2 separate regions of the Homo sapiens genome follow, and region 2 is linked to region 1. Evidence: promoter capture Hi-C in 16 types of primary human blood cells and fetal thymus (Javierre and others, 2016). All regions are on one chromosome and are shown on one strand. The core of a region is centred on a gene start or on the middle of the fragment in contact, and the rest is flanking DNA. Distances in the headings are between cores, read along the strand shown. Region 1 holds the start of FXYD3 (FXYD domain containing ion transport regulator 3). Region 2 overlaps LINC01531 (long intergenic non-protein coding RNA 1531).

Region 1 (7,576 bases), core at 4,756-7,255:
GCAGGGGTGTGGCGCTGGCGCAGGCTGAGTGCGGCACTGCCTTCTTGGATACCAGGGTGCAGGGGGAAGGGGATGTGGAGATGGGTCCCGGCTGCCAGCAGGCTGCTGGGTCAGTGCCTCCCCGCAGCTGAGGGTGCCAGCCAGGATCTTAGAACTGCAGACTCATGGTCCTGCCTCTGCAGCCAGGAGGGAGCCTGCCAGCCCCAGCACCAGCCTCAGAGCCTTGGGGCTCCCACCGTTAGGGGGCTGGGGCTGGGTGGCCAGGAGGAGTTAAGTCACCCACAGCCAGGAAGGGGCAGAGCTGGGACCCAAGGGGCTGTGAACGGTGAACTCATCCAGGAGGAAGGAGAAGGAAGACATTGTGGGAGGGCCAACAAGAACACAGGCAAAGGAAAAATATATAGACAGTAAAAGGAAAAATATATATAGATAAAATATTCAATATATAAACTATAGTAATATACATAAATATAGAGTTTCTTAAGTTCATTTAAATTCTGTTTCCTTAACTGTTAGTTTACCTGGTTCTAAATTTACTTTTCCTTCCACTTTTTCGGTGTTGTTTTTTATCTTGTGATTTATTATTTTGTGTTAACTTTAATATTACATTTTTAAGGGCTGGGCGCAATGGCTCACGCTTGTAATCCTAGCACTTTGGGAGGACCAGGCGGGCGGATCACTTGAGGTCAGGAGTTCGAGACTAGCCTGGCCAACATGGTGAAACCCCATCTCTACTAAAAAATGACAAAAAATTAGCCGGGTGTGGTGGCGGGCACCTGTAATCCCAAGCTACTCAGAGGCTGAGACAGGAGAATTACTTGAACCTGGGAGGCGGAGGTTGCACAGTGAGCCAAGATCTCACCACTGCACTGCAGCCTGGGTGACAGAGCAAGACATTGTCTTGAAAAAATATATTGTTTAATTGATTTTTTTCCCCAACTTTTGAGATTTTCGACTATAGAAAAGTCATGTAACCCGTACAATCCACTCAAATACCCTTCACATAGCTTCCTCAATTCTTAGTATTTTGCCTGATTCGCTTTATCTCTTTATATCTATGTAATTTTCTTCTGAGTTTCTGTGTCTCACTTTTCCTGTCCCTATTTACTTGTCCAGGCGTTTTCAAAAGACTCAGTCTTCTCTGTTGTTGGTTGACCAATAAATAAATATTTAGCCTTTTTCTGGAGGGAGATCACAAAACAGGACAGAGCTCTTCCTGAATCCTTCAGGCGGATTCGCCCTCTCTTCCTGTTCTGCGGAGGACAGTCCTGGGGCCTTTGCTGTGTCAACCATGCCCCGAGGCACCCCAGAAGCTGCATCTGTCGAGTCTGTGCTGTAATCATGGCCTTGAAGGTGGAAGGCAGGTCTGAGATGGGAGGTGACAGGAGCAGGTCTGGGCCGGAGCAACCGCAAGCGCCCGTCTCCTTCTCTCCCTCCCTCCCTCCCTCCTTCCCTCCCTCCCTCCCTCCATCAAACCAGGCAGAGCTGGGGCCTGGGGCACCCCAGGGAGACAGACCTGCCACCTCAGCAATGGCTTCCAGGTGGGAATGGGGGTCTTTTAGTCCAGACTTTTCCAGAGATGCTGGAAACACAGCTTGTCCTGCTGTTTAAATGTTTGCAATTATTAATTTTTGCAATGCTTTGTAAAAACTAAAGGTACAATAGTTGGGTTCCACCCTGGGACCGCCAGTTTGCAATCCTTCTCTTAGGGACTGAGTCAGGCTGGGGGGGGGGGGCGGGCTGCAGGGCTCCCACTTGAACCAGAAGTCCCTGTCCCAGATGTCTAGCTCCAAATGTGTTCCCTGCCCTTTCCTGCTTCCCTGTAGTTCCTGCCCGCACCCAGGACCCCCAGCCATCTGCCCAAGCCCTCCCCACCCCCACCACGCCGCCCCCACTCCCCACATGATGGGGAAGCTGGCCAAGACATTCATTCCTCCACACCCCCTGCCCCCATCAGCAGCTCCACCCTCAGCACCCCCACCTCAGCTCCTCCTGCAAGGCCTCCGTGGATGGGGGGTGGCGGTGGAGAAAGCCTTTCTTTTATAATTGTTTTAAACCTACTTTTATTTTTATTTTTGTAGAGACAAGATCTCTCTATATTGCCCAGGCTGGTCTTGAACTCCTGGACTCAAAGGATCCTCCAGCCTCGGCCCCCCAGAGTGCTGGGATTACAGGCGTGAGCCATGGTGCCCAGCCTGGTAATTAACAGATACTTCGTGACCACCCACTATGCACCAGGCCCTGTTCTATAATTCAGATGAAAATCCCTGAGAGGAGCTGACGTGCTAGCAGGGGAGGCAGATAGCACCACAAAAAAAAAAAAAAAAAAGCAAACAGAAGTCAAAAGGTCATAGAGAGGTCAGGGGGTAGGTGCGATGGTGGTCGGGGAAAGCCACTTGAACCTCATGGCTTTGAGCTGTCCAGATGCGGGAGAAAAGAGAGCCAGGCAAGGGAATAGGCATTGCAAGGGCTCTTGGCCAGAAACATGCCTGGAGTGATCCAGGAACGGCAAGGAGGCCCAGGTGGCCGGAGCAGAGTGAGTGACAACAGGGGTTAGGGGGAACCCTGAACCTCCCCTGAGTTTCCCTAGTCTGTAAGATGGGGGTCTCCAACCGGTGGCCCCAGGGCCTTATCCAACCACTGGATATTTTTCATTCTGTCTACAAAGTGTTAAGAAAACGAAGTTACCAACATTTAAAAATCAGGGCCGGGTGCAGTGGCTTGCACCTATAATCCCTGCGCTTCGGGAAGCCAAGGTGGGAGGATCACTTGAGACCCAGAGTTCAAGACCAGGTTGGGCAACATAGCGAGACCCCCGTCTCTAAAAAAATTAAAAAATTAGCCAGGTGTGGTGACGTGCATTTGTAGTCCCAGCTACAGGGGAGGCTGAGGTGGGAGAATCACTTAAGCCCAGGAGTTGGAGGCTGCAGTGAGCCATGATTGGACCACTACACTCCAGCTTGGGCAACAGAGCAAGAACTCACCTTAAAAAAAAAAAATCCGGAAGGCCGGGCTCGGTGGCTCATGCCTGTAATCCCAGCATTTTGGGAGGCTGAGGCAGGCGGATCACTTGAGGTCAGGAGTTGGAAACCAGCCTGGCCAGCACGGTGAAACCCCGTCTGTACTAAATATACAAAAATTAGCCGGGCGTGGTGGCACACACCTGTAATCCCACCTACTCGAGAGGCTGAGGCACGAGAATTGCTTGAACCTGGAAGGCAGAGGTTGCAGTGAGCTGAGATCGTGCCACTGCACTTCAGCCTGGGCGACAAGAGCAAAATTCCATCTCAAAAAAAAAACAAAACAAAACAGGAGATTTCATCATAAAAATCTCCATTTCTAGCTTCTGTGGGTGAGTGATGACGTCAGAGCAGCACAGAGGCAGGTGTCAGGGAGCCTGTGGACTCTTGGCCACTGTGTCACCTCACATGGCTCCTGGAAGCCAGGCGGACAGTGATACGTCCACAGCCACACCATCCCCATGGTGGTGGGACAGGGTTACCTGCCAGTGCCCACTCTTCTCCCACAGGTGCTGAGACCACAGCGCTGTTCCACAAAGCCCCAGGAAGCCACATTACCCTGTCCACCGGCCTCTCTAGCCCCATCTTGCCCAGGAAGTGGGACCTTGGCGTATCGCTGTGACCACACCTCCCAGCCGGTCAGCCTGGCCGCTCAGGCTCTACCTGCAAAGGCAAGGCCCCACCCAACCAGCACCCCTCTCATGGCTGGGGGTGCCTCCAGGCTGCCCTCTCTAGGGCCAGGAGCCTGCAGAAACGCTCCCAGCCTTGAATAAAGAGCAACGAAATTATTGAAACAAAATCAATAAAAGTTTGAATCAGGGATGGTATAACATGCTCTGGCTTTGATTCTGTGCTTTAATTCAGCGTTCCTGAAAAACTTATGATGTCAGAAACTATCTGTAGGTTTGGTTTTTTTCATTTTGCAAGAATTCCCAGGATATGGAGAAATCACAGCCACTCACAGCCTTAACAGGTTCTTTGGGCCCAAATGATTCCAAAAGCAAAACGAGAGAAACTTTTTCAAATATGTTTATTATGTATATTATATACAATATATTAATAAAACATATTACCTACATGCATTTAAAACATAACTGAAGTCAGATTGGCCCAGAAGACTCACTCCAAATGAGACCTAATCCCCAATAGGGTGCAAGTGACTGCACAAACTCTACTCCTCACAGCCCTTCCTAAGACTCAGTGTGCTCATCACACTAGGGTCTCAGAGTCCTTCTGACCATAAACCCAAGCCCCAGCGCCAGCCCAACACACACTTGGACGCAGCATGTTCACGTCCAGCCTAGGAAGAATTTATGGTTGACCTGGATTGGGTAAAAACCGTAAACGTCTGTACCTCAGAATGTAAGATCATGGTGTTTAAAACTACAGAACATTCAGAGGTTGTCAGAAGTCTCTAATTGCTGGTCCCCCAGGTTGAAACCAGCCCTTAGGTTGAAATTTTGACCTGCAAATTTTTTTTTAAATCTGAACCAAATTTTTTAAATTAAACCCCTTTAAGGTAGTACATTTTCAAGATGCAAAATTCAAAAAATATAAGAGGGCACGTGATAATGAGTGAGTCTCACTTCCACCCCACCCTCCAGCCTCCCAGTTTCCCTCTCCAGAAGCCATGGGTATGGATGCCAATCTCCAAAAATATTTTATTCATTACAAGTATATACATATGCATTATTTTACCGCTCACAAATGGTAGCACACTGCACGGTTTCCCAATACCTTGTTTTTTTTCCCCTTAGCAAGCTGTCTGGGAAATACTTCTGTATCTAACCACGGGCAGGGGTGTTCCTCCAAGATTTTTAGACAACAGTTCTCCAGTTCACCCCGTTCCGGTGAAGGGCAGAGCACCCCCCGCCCTTCCCAGCCACCCTGTACACGCCCCTACTCGCTCTCGGATGCCTGCAGTTCCCAGGCTTCCCAGCAGAGGGAGACACCATTCCACTCCCAAGACCACCAAGGGGTCGTCCCAGACACAAGCTTCAAGGGTCTAGGGAAGAGACGCTATCCGCCCAGACACAAAGACCCCCCTTAGCTATACTGAGTTGGCCTCCGGGCCTCCCCTTCCTGTTTCTATCTCCTCCTGGACCTGTTGCTTAGAGCCCTACCCCGAGGTCCCCCCGCCCGGCTTCCTTATGGGAACTGGCCCCGCCTTAAGAGTGGTAGGAGGGAGCCTTACCCTTGTCTAGGACCTGGGCTTGACAACTTGCCCCAGGGAACCACATAGAGAAGGGGTGTAGCGCTGGGCGAACATTGCCCTCCCCGATCCCTCAGCGATGACAAGTGGGGGGTCCTTCTCTCTGCCCCCAGCAGGCCAGTTTCCGGAAGAGCCTTGACCCAAACCCCCTTTTCCTGTCCTGTGCTCCACACTCCCAGCAGCTGCTTCTCCCTGGCCAGGCCCTGCAGCCCTCCTCCCCGCCCCCACGGTGGTGTTGGGGTCGCCTGGAGTCCAGCTGGTGTCCAGGGCAGAGCTACCCCTTTCCTGGCCCTACCCCTCCCCGTGACCCCAATCCTCCGCCAACCGCTCAAAGGATCCTTGTTCTCCATCCAGCCCCCAGACAAAAGTCCCTCTGTCTAAGAAGGCGGAATTGAGGGGAGGGGGCACCCCCAACTGGGACCATGGGGGAGCCTGCACAGACCCCATCCGGAAGGAATGCCTGGAGGAGGAGGAGCAGGAGACAGGGGAGGAAAGGGGGAGGGAGGCTTGTACAGTGCTGGGGGCCTTATGTGGACTAGGAGGCAGCCGCCCCCACCAGCACCCACTCTGTAGACCCAGGCGTCTGGCTCCCAGCACCCACGGAAAGAGCCTGGCTAGGAAACTGCAGCCTGGTGCCTGGCAGACAGTTCTCATTCTCCCCAGGGCAGGGAGCAGGTTATGACCAGGACTAAGGTCCCAGAGTCCCCACCCTGACCCCTCCCTGCTGTTCCAGCCGCTCCCTCATATCCACCCCTGCCCCATCTCCTGACTTTGGTCACGCTAGCATCTTCTGCTGATCCTGAAATTGTACCAGCGGCAAGATGTGGCCTGGAAGGGGACTTTAAGTTCTCCACAACTGCCAGCAATCCTTCCACCAGGCAAAACACATCATCTAAGGAAAAGAAGTGAGGTCGGAACACCAACGCATCATCTCACTGCATGGCCCTGGAGGCTCTGCCGTTTAAAGACCCCAGAACCTTCCCCATTCAAGGTCCTCTCCTGGGCACAGGAGATTGGAGAAAGCTCCTCCCTTAATTCCAGGGGCCGAGTTCCAGCCCATCCAATTCTCCGTCTCACCTGAGGCTGCTGTGGTCCTGGTGACCCCAGGGAGCAACCTGCCGCCCATGGCTGGGGAGGGGGTGAAGCTGTCTCTTTAAGAGCAGGAATGGAGCCCCTGGGCCTCAGGGCATCTGACTTGTTTTCTACCTGCCCAGGTTTGCTTAGGGCGTGGCAGCTTCGGATAAACGCAGGACTCCGCCTGGCAGCCCGATTTCTCCCGGAACCTCTGCTCAGCCTGGTGAACCACACAGGTGAGCAGCTGGGGCCCCTTCCTCCAAGCCCTCCTTGTCTCTGCCCCTAAATTAGGAAGTATCTACCTGCCCCCTGACCCTGCCCCATAGAAGCTTTTATGTTAAAGCGCCTAAAATCTTGTGAAATGCTTTTCTGGAGCCAGGAGATAAACGGAAGTCCCTTCCCCTAATGTCCCTTTCCCCACCATTCTCCTCTCAGGGACTTGTTGAACCAGCTGAGGTGAGGGCAGGACTGATAAGTGTGGTTGGGGTGTCTGAAAGACTAGTGTCTGCATGGATTAGGGATATCTGGGTTGGGGATAGCTGGGTGGAGGAGAGGGGGTGCCTGGGTAGGTAGGGGTATCTAAGTGGACCAGGGGTGCGTAGATGGACTGGGGACATCTGGGTGGATGAGGAATGCTGGGTGGACTCGGGGTGTCCAGACATTGAGGGATCTGGGTGGATAAGGAGTGCTGGGTGGACTCGGGGTGTCCAGACATTGAGGGATCTGGATTCTGGAGACCTCCAGGAAAAAAGGATGGAGCTGCTGGGGGAAGCTTTAAATGGGGAGTTGCTTGGGAGATTTCAGGAGCACACAGCGGGCAGGATCTTTCTACCCACCCCTGAACATGAGACCATTCTCCCATGGTATGGAGGAATAGAGGGGATAGCAGAGGGCAGGTGGGGGAAACAGTCCTCAGGCCGGCCTTGGGACCTCATGGCCAGGAAGGATGAGAGCAGGTAGACAGAGCATCAGCTGCAGGGCTGCCTTCCTCTCTAACCTGCTCACCAACCACATCAGTTCGGGAGCAGCCCACAGCCTCTTCAGACAACAGCCTGAATGGGGAACGTGAGGGCAGACCCAGCTCCCGGCTCCCTGCAGCCTCCGGAAGCATGGGACTGGACGTTGTTTTGCAGAGGCTGGGGCGAGGAGGATACCATCTGTCAGTCTTGGCTGGATGACATCATGGGAAGGGGGTATAGTGGGGCCTTGCAGGCCAGAGGTGGCTTGGAGGAGCCCCTGGAAAGAGGCTTAAGAGGTGAGACTCAACAGC
Region 2 (6,866 bases), core at 2,973-5,472, 300 kb after region 1:
AGATTAGAGGCGCCAGCTTGGGGTAACCTTTTGGGGAAGGAGGGCTCAAAAAGAGGAACAATGAAACAGAACTAAGGTGAGTTCTCCTGTGCCCAGTTTCAGAGGTCAAGGAGAGTAGTAGATAGCTCAAACCCAACTCAGCCATTGAGTGAGTGTTTTCATTTTGTTCCTTGGGGTCTATGATATTTTCTATTTTCTTTTCTTTCCTTTTGTTTTGGTTTGTTTGTTTGTTTGGTTGGTTGGTTGGTTGGTTGGTTTTAGAGACAGGGTTTCCCTCTGTCACCCAGGCTGGAATGCAGTAGTGTGATCACATCACACTGCAGCTTCTAACTCATGGGTTCAAGCCATCCTCCTGCCTCAGCCTCCTGAGTAGCTGGGACTCCAGGTGCACGCCACCATGGCCGGCTAATTGTTTATTTTTTATAGAGACAGGGTTTCACTATGTTGGCCAGGATGTTCAACAACTTCTGCCTTCAAGCGATCTTCCCTCCTGGGCCTCCCCAAGTGCTGAGTTTACAAGCATCAGCCACCACACCCAGCCTATGACATTTTCTTCATTATGGCTGGTACTGCCTCATGGTAAGCCACAAGCCTTTTTATCTTGTAATATCAGAGTCTTGGAATTCTTTATCTTCCCTACTCTATATCTAGAAGACAGTAGCACTGACTTATCTGCTGCAGAGCTCTTAATTCTATCCTTGGCCCCGATTCAGAAAAGGGGGTTCCTCATGCTGGATCTGAACAACCCAGCACAGGCAAGTCTGGGGAGCAAGGCAGGAGCCTGCATGTGGACTCAAAGGACCGGCACCCGAAACAAAGCAGTGGCTGGCACAGGTGGACAAACCAGGCAAGAAAAGCAACTGTCCTTCGGAGCAGAGTCCACGTGATGGGAAGAAACAGGTCATGATACTTTTGAGTGGTTACATCCTACTGTGTTTGTGCCTTCTTTTTTCCTTTCTCAGTCTTGCCAAGAGACCCATTAATTTGTCTTTTCAGAAAACCAAGATCCTCTCCAGCATTTATCTTTGTTTTCTTGTTGCATTGATTTCTAATCTTATCTTTATTGTTTCCTTCCTTTTACTTTATTGAGTCTTCTCTGTTGCTCCTTTTCTAACATGTTAACTTGGATGCTCGTTCATTTTAGCCTTTCTTCTTTGCTAATGTAAGCATTTAGTGTGTTGGATAGATTTCCCTCTAAGAACAGCTTTAGTGGGATGTCACAAGTTTTGATTTGCAGCATTCTCATTATTTTGAGTTCTAAATAGGCTCCAAATTCCATGGGATTTTTTTATTTGACTCTTGACTTTGGAAATGTACCTTAATTTTCAAACACAGATGTTTCCCCCCTTTATCCTTTTGTTATTCATTTCTAACTACAGAGTATTGTTTCAATGGTATCAGTTCTTTGAAATTTGCTGAGAATTGTTTTTTGGCTTAGAATATAAACAGTATTCTAGTATTCCAGTAATGAAAAGAAGATAGATTCTGTAATTGTTGGGTGCTATGTTCTCTGTATATACCTTAGATCAAACTTGTTAATTTATGATGTTCAAATCTTCATAACCTTTATATACATTTTCATCTATTTAATCTATCAGTTATATGAAGAGGTGTGTTACATGCTCCTTCTATCATGGTAAATTTGCCTATTTCTCCTTGTAGTTCTGTCTCCCTGGTGAATTGAAACTTTCAAAATTCTTTCTGCCTTAACATTGATTTTGTCTGATATTAACAGAGCCACATCAACTTGGTTTTTGCTTATTATTTGCCAGTCCATCTCTGTCCATCCTTCTACATTCAACCTTGCTATATCTTTATGTTTTAAATGTGCTTTTCCTAAGCAGTGTATAGAGTGGTTGGATTTTTTTGTAATCTGGTCTGACAACTGGACAATATTTGTCTTTTAACTGTACCATTTTGTCCATTTATAGTTATAAAATAATAATTTCCAATATATTTGAATTTATCTCTGTCATCTTATTTTAAATACTTTTAGTGAAGTATGTGCACATATATTGAAATATACATGCATACCGTGTGTATTAGTCCATTCTCACGCTGCTAGTAAAGACATACCCGAGACTGGGTAATTTACAAAGAAGAGAGGTTTAATTGACTCACAGTTCCACGGGGCTGGGCAAGCCTCAGAAAACATAGAATCATGGTGGAAGGGAAAGCAAACAGGTCCTTCTTCACATGGCAGCAGCAAGAAGTGCAGAGCAAAATGGGAGAAGCCATCTGATAAAACCATTAGATCTCGTGAGAACTCACTCACTATCAGGAGAACAGCATGAGGGTAACCCACCCCATGATTCAATTACCTCCCACCTGGTTCCTCCCATGACACTTGGGATTATGGGAACTGCAATTCAAGATGAGATTTAGGTGGGGACACAGCCAAACCATATCACCATGCATGGCCAAATAATAAGTGTACAGGCCAAATAAACTATCACAAATATCACAGAGTGAACACACCTATTTAAGAAAAAGCAAAAAGTCTACCATATTATTTTGTGCTTTTTATTTCCCTCATCTTTTATTTTATTTTATTTTATTTTATTTTATTCTATTTTATTTTATTTTCAGACACAGTCTCACTCTGTTGCCCAGGCTGAAGTCAACGGCATGATCTCAGCTCACTGCAACCTCCACCTCCTGGGTTCAAGCAATTCTCGTGCCTCAGCCTCCCAAGTAGCTTGGATTACAGGTGTGTGCCACTATGCCTGGCTAATTTTGGCATTTTTATTAAAGACGGGGTTTCACCATGTTGACCAAGCTGGTCTTGAACTGCTGACCTTAGGTGATCCAACCACCTCGGCCTCCCAAAGTGCTGGTATTACAGGTGTGAGCCACCTTGCCAAGCCATCCCTCACCTTTTAATATTTCTTTTTTTCTTCTCTCTAGCCTTCTTTTGAGATTCAGTTCGTTTATTTCTTTTCTTTCTCATTTCATTTATTCCTCCACTGACTTGGAAACTGTATGTTCTGTTTCCATTATTTAGTGGTTATTTTAAACACTGTAAGATGGTAGGAGTTCCTCAATGAGTTACTCCCTCCCTCCCTTCCTTCTTCCCTTTAATACCACACATCAAGGAAAACCCAACCCAAGTAGCTTCGAACTATGTGAATCTAGGGCAGCAGTTTTCAAAGCACTGTCTGTGAGGTCAAAACTATTCATAATGCTATTAAAATGCTGATTGCTCTCTTCACCTTCATTATCTCACAAATAATGTGCACAGTGGAGGTTTTGAGAGCTACGTGACGTGATATCATGACGGAATGAATGCAGACCAGATAGGAAAATACAGCTGTCTTCTATTAAGCCAGGCATTAAAGAGATCTGCAAAAATGTAAAACAATGCCACTGTCACGAATTTTTTGAAGATATAGTTGTTTTTTCTAGGAACGTGTCATTTATATTAACATGTAATGGTTTTATGGTTATTATTATTATAAGATAAGTTAATACACATTTTTAAATTTTTCTGTTTTAACTTTGTTTTTTTTTTGTTTTTTTTTTTTGTTTTTTTTGATACGCAGTTTCACTCTTGTTGCCAAGGCTGGAGTACAGTGGTGTGATCTCGGCTCACCGCAACCTCTGCCTCCTGGCTTCAAGCGATTCTCCTGCCTCAGCCTCCCAAGTAGCTGAGATTACAGGCACAAGCCACCATGCCCGGCTAATTTTTGTATTTTTAGTAGAGACAGGGTTTCACCATGTTGGTCAGGCTGGTCTCGCACTCCTGACCTCATGATCTGCCCACCTCAGTCTCCCAAGGTCCTAGGATTATAGATATGAGCCACCACGCCTGGCAGGAATTTTCATTTTTGCTTTTCTTTCCTTTTTTTTCTTTTTTCTTTTTTTTTTCGAGACAGTGTCTCACTCTGCCACCCAGGGTGAGTGCAGTGGCATGAACACAACTCACTGCAGCCTCGTCTTCCCAGGCTCAAGCAACCCTCCCACCTCAGCCTCCCAAGTAGCTGGAACTACAGGTGCACGCCACCATGCTCAGCTAATTCTTGTATTTTTTGTGGAGATGGGGTTTTGCCATGTTGCCCGGGTTGGTCTCAAACTCCTAAGCTTAAAGCAATCCACCTGCCTCAGCCTCCCAAAGTGTTGGGATTAGAGGGGTGAGCCACCACACCCATCCCTTCAGTAATTTTCAAGAGTATAAACCGACCTTGAGATCCACAAGTTTGAGAATTGCTGACCTGGTGAGATGACAGACAGGATTACTCTGCTAAGTGCAATTGTGCACATATAAAACCTTCTGCTACCTGATGTGTCTTTAATGATTCGAAATTTCATAAAGTCTAATGCCACTTAACCTCTCAAAGTGAGTTTAAAGTTTGCCTGATAAAATGCAAAGCTTGTTGAGATATTAAATATGATACTTAACAATCAGAACTATTCCATGAGGAGATAAAGAAGTAACAAAGCCGGCTCAGATGGATGGGATGTAATTGCGCCGCACAGACCTGTATTCACCATGTTATGTTAGTTCCTGTTCTAAAGATGCTTTTTTTTTTTTTTTTTTTTTTTTTTTGAGACAGAGTCTCGCTCTGTAACCCAGACTGCTGCAGTGCAGTGGCATGAGCTTGGCTCACTGCAACCTCCGCCTCCCAGGCTCAAGCAATTCTTATGCCTCAGCTTCCCGAGTTGCTGGGATTACAGGCATGCGCCACCACACCTGGCAAATGTTTGTATTTTTAGTAGAGATGGGGTTTCACCATGTTGGCCAGGCTGGTCTTGAACTCCTGGCCTCAAGTGATTCATCAACCTCAGCCTCTCAAAGTGCTAGAATTACAGGTTTGAGCCACCGCGCCTGGCCTAAGGATTGTTTAAATTGGAGTTTTTCTTCTTGTTTTATGGGGAAGGATTACTTCATCTACAATTAGGTGGAATATTAACCCAAACTATATGTAGGATTTCCAATCTTAGAGGCTATAGGAACTGGGGGAGAAGGAAAGCATAATACTAATTATATTTGTCCTATGTCATCCTAGGGAAAGTGCATATTTAATTCCTGTCAGCAAAGATTAAAGAAAGATTTTCAGGGCAAAAGTTATAAACAGGCTTAGTGTGTTTTATTTTGAACGGGGGAATTCACAAAGCCTTTGTGAAAGCCTCAATTTTACTGTTAGACTACTTGATAGCACCTAGTTAATATAAGCTAGGGCGATTCAACTAGTTCCATTGCACCTCCCGGTAAATAAATGGTTCCTGAGGCATTGTGTTAAGCGAGGAATGGAAGTTTGAAGGTTACCGGCAAGGCTCCTTCAGCCCTCTCCGGTTTTCAGGTTAATGGTGGGGAGAGTGAGTGTCCACCAGAAAGGGACTGTGATGTGACGTTAGGTCACTTGATTTCTGTAAACTTATGGGAGACCTTTCTCCTAAAGATGGGCTCAAGATGCCACCATTTACAATGTTACTCTCAATGACCTTGGGGAAGTCCTGCTCCTAGGGGTGGGACACAGTGATAAGAGGGAGGGGTGTGCCGGGCATGGTGGCTCATGCCTGTAATTCCAGCACTTTGGGAGGCTGAGGCAGGCAGATCACCTGAGGCCAGGAGTTCAAGACCAGCCTGGCCAACATGGCAAAACCCCATCTCTACTAACAATATAAAAATTAGCTGGGCGTGGTGGTGTGCAGCTGTAATCCCAGCTACTTGAGAGGCTGAGACAGGAGAATCACTTGAATCCAAGAGGCAGAGGCTGTAGTGAGCCAAAATCATGCCATTGCACTCCAACCTGGGCAACAAGAGCAGACACTCCGTCTAAAGCAAACAACAACCAAAAAAAAAAAAAAAAAACACAAGAGGAAGGGGTGGAAGAGTGTACTGATTGTTGGACCCTGAGGATTGCAATTTTATCATAACATTCTCTACAGTCTCTTTTCAAAAATGAACCAGCAATCAGAGATGGCACCGATTGGTTTGGCCTTCTTAGCAACATCTCTCCCTTGTCCTCTGCCATGTGGTTTGGTGGAGCTGACTTTACCCCCAGCTCCTGCTCCAGGGGCAGGTGTGAAACCAGGACCCTGCTCATCTACAGTTCATCCTCTGACCACAGTGATGGTTCACACTTGGGTGCATGACTCAATCCAGACCAATGAAAGATGAACCCAGGCTGGGCATGGTGGCTCACATCTGTAATCCCAGCACATGGGAAGGCTGAGGCAGGCGAATCAGTTGAGGTCAGGAGTTTGAGACCAGCCAGGCTAACTTGGCGAAACCCTGTCTCTACTAAAAATACAAAAATGAGCTGGGCGTGGTGGTGCACACCTGTAATCCCAGCTACTTGGGAGGCTGAGGCGGAAGAATCACTTGAACACGGGATGTGGAGGTTGCAGTGAGCCAAGACCATGCCACTGCACACTCCAGCCTGGGTGACAGAGTGCACCCACTGTGGATCCAGCCTTTTTTTTTTTTTTTTTTTTTGAGACAGAGTCTCACCAGGCTTGAGTGCAGTGGCGTTAATCTTGGCTCACTGCAACCTCTGCCTCCCAGGTTCAAGCAATTCTCCTGCCTCAGCCTCCTGAGTAGCTAGGACTAGAGGCGCGCACCACCCCGCCCAGCTAATTTTTGTATTTTTAGTAGAGACGGGGATTCACCATGTTGGCCAGGATGGTCTCGATCTCTTGACCTCATGATCCACCCACCTTGGCCTCCCAAAGTGCTGGGATTATAGGCATGAACCACCGCACCTGGCCAGCCCTTCTCTTTTAACCACCAGGAGAAAGAACCTCTCTTCTACTGATCTTGAACTTGAAGGCTGGTCCCTCTCTTCTGGGGGCCATTGTGAAGAGAGGCTGCCTAAGCCTGAAGTCAACTTAAAGGAAGGTGAAACAGAGAAAAACCACACATT

Evidence for each region. Contacts are between HindIII fragments. The CHiCAGO score rates a contact against its expected background, and 5 or more counts as called.
Region 2: a fragment that was not itself captured here is called in contact with the fragment with the promoter of FXYD3 in region 1 in 4 of 17 cell types (total B cells, naive B cells, total CD4 T cells and 1 more); the score reaches 10.2 in total B cells.

Annotation. Positions count from the first base shown.
Region 1 is chr19:35,109,818-35,117,393 of GRCh38, forward strand. It overlaps FXYD3 (FXYD domain containing ion transport regulator 3), which reads left to right and starts at 6,006. Exons shown (of 9, transcript NM_005971.4): 1 at 6,006-6,142; 2 at 6,447-6,542. LOC124904701 (hepatitis A virus cellular receptor 1-like) reads left to right here. Exons shown (of 3, transcript XR_007067238.1): 3 at 3,530-3,852. RefSeq lists an enhancer at 1-44. The HindIII fragment of the contact is 1,620 bases long and covers 5,014-6,633 here.
Region 2 is chr19:35,408,573-35,415,438 of GRCh38, forward strand. It overlaps LINC01531 (long intergenic non-protein coding RNA 1531), which reads left to right. Exons shown (of 5, transcript NR_040046.1): 2 at 1-579; 3 at 714-900; 4 at 2,590-2,710. It also overlaps the pseudogene RN7SL491P. Among named protein-coding and RNA genes, the nearest start is that of LINC01531, 6.4 kb to the left of the region's middle. The HindIII fragment of the contact is 289 bases long and covers 4,079-4,367 here.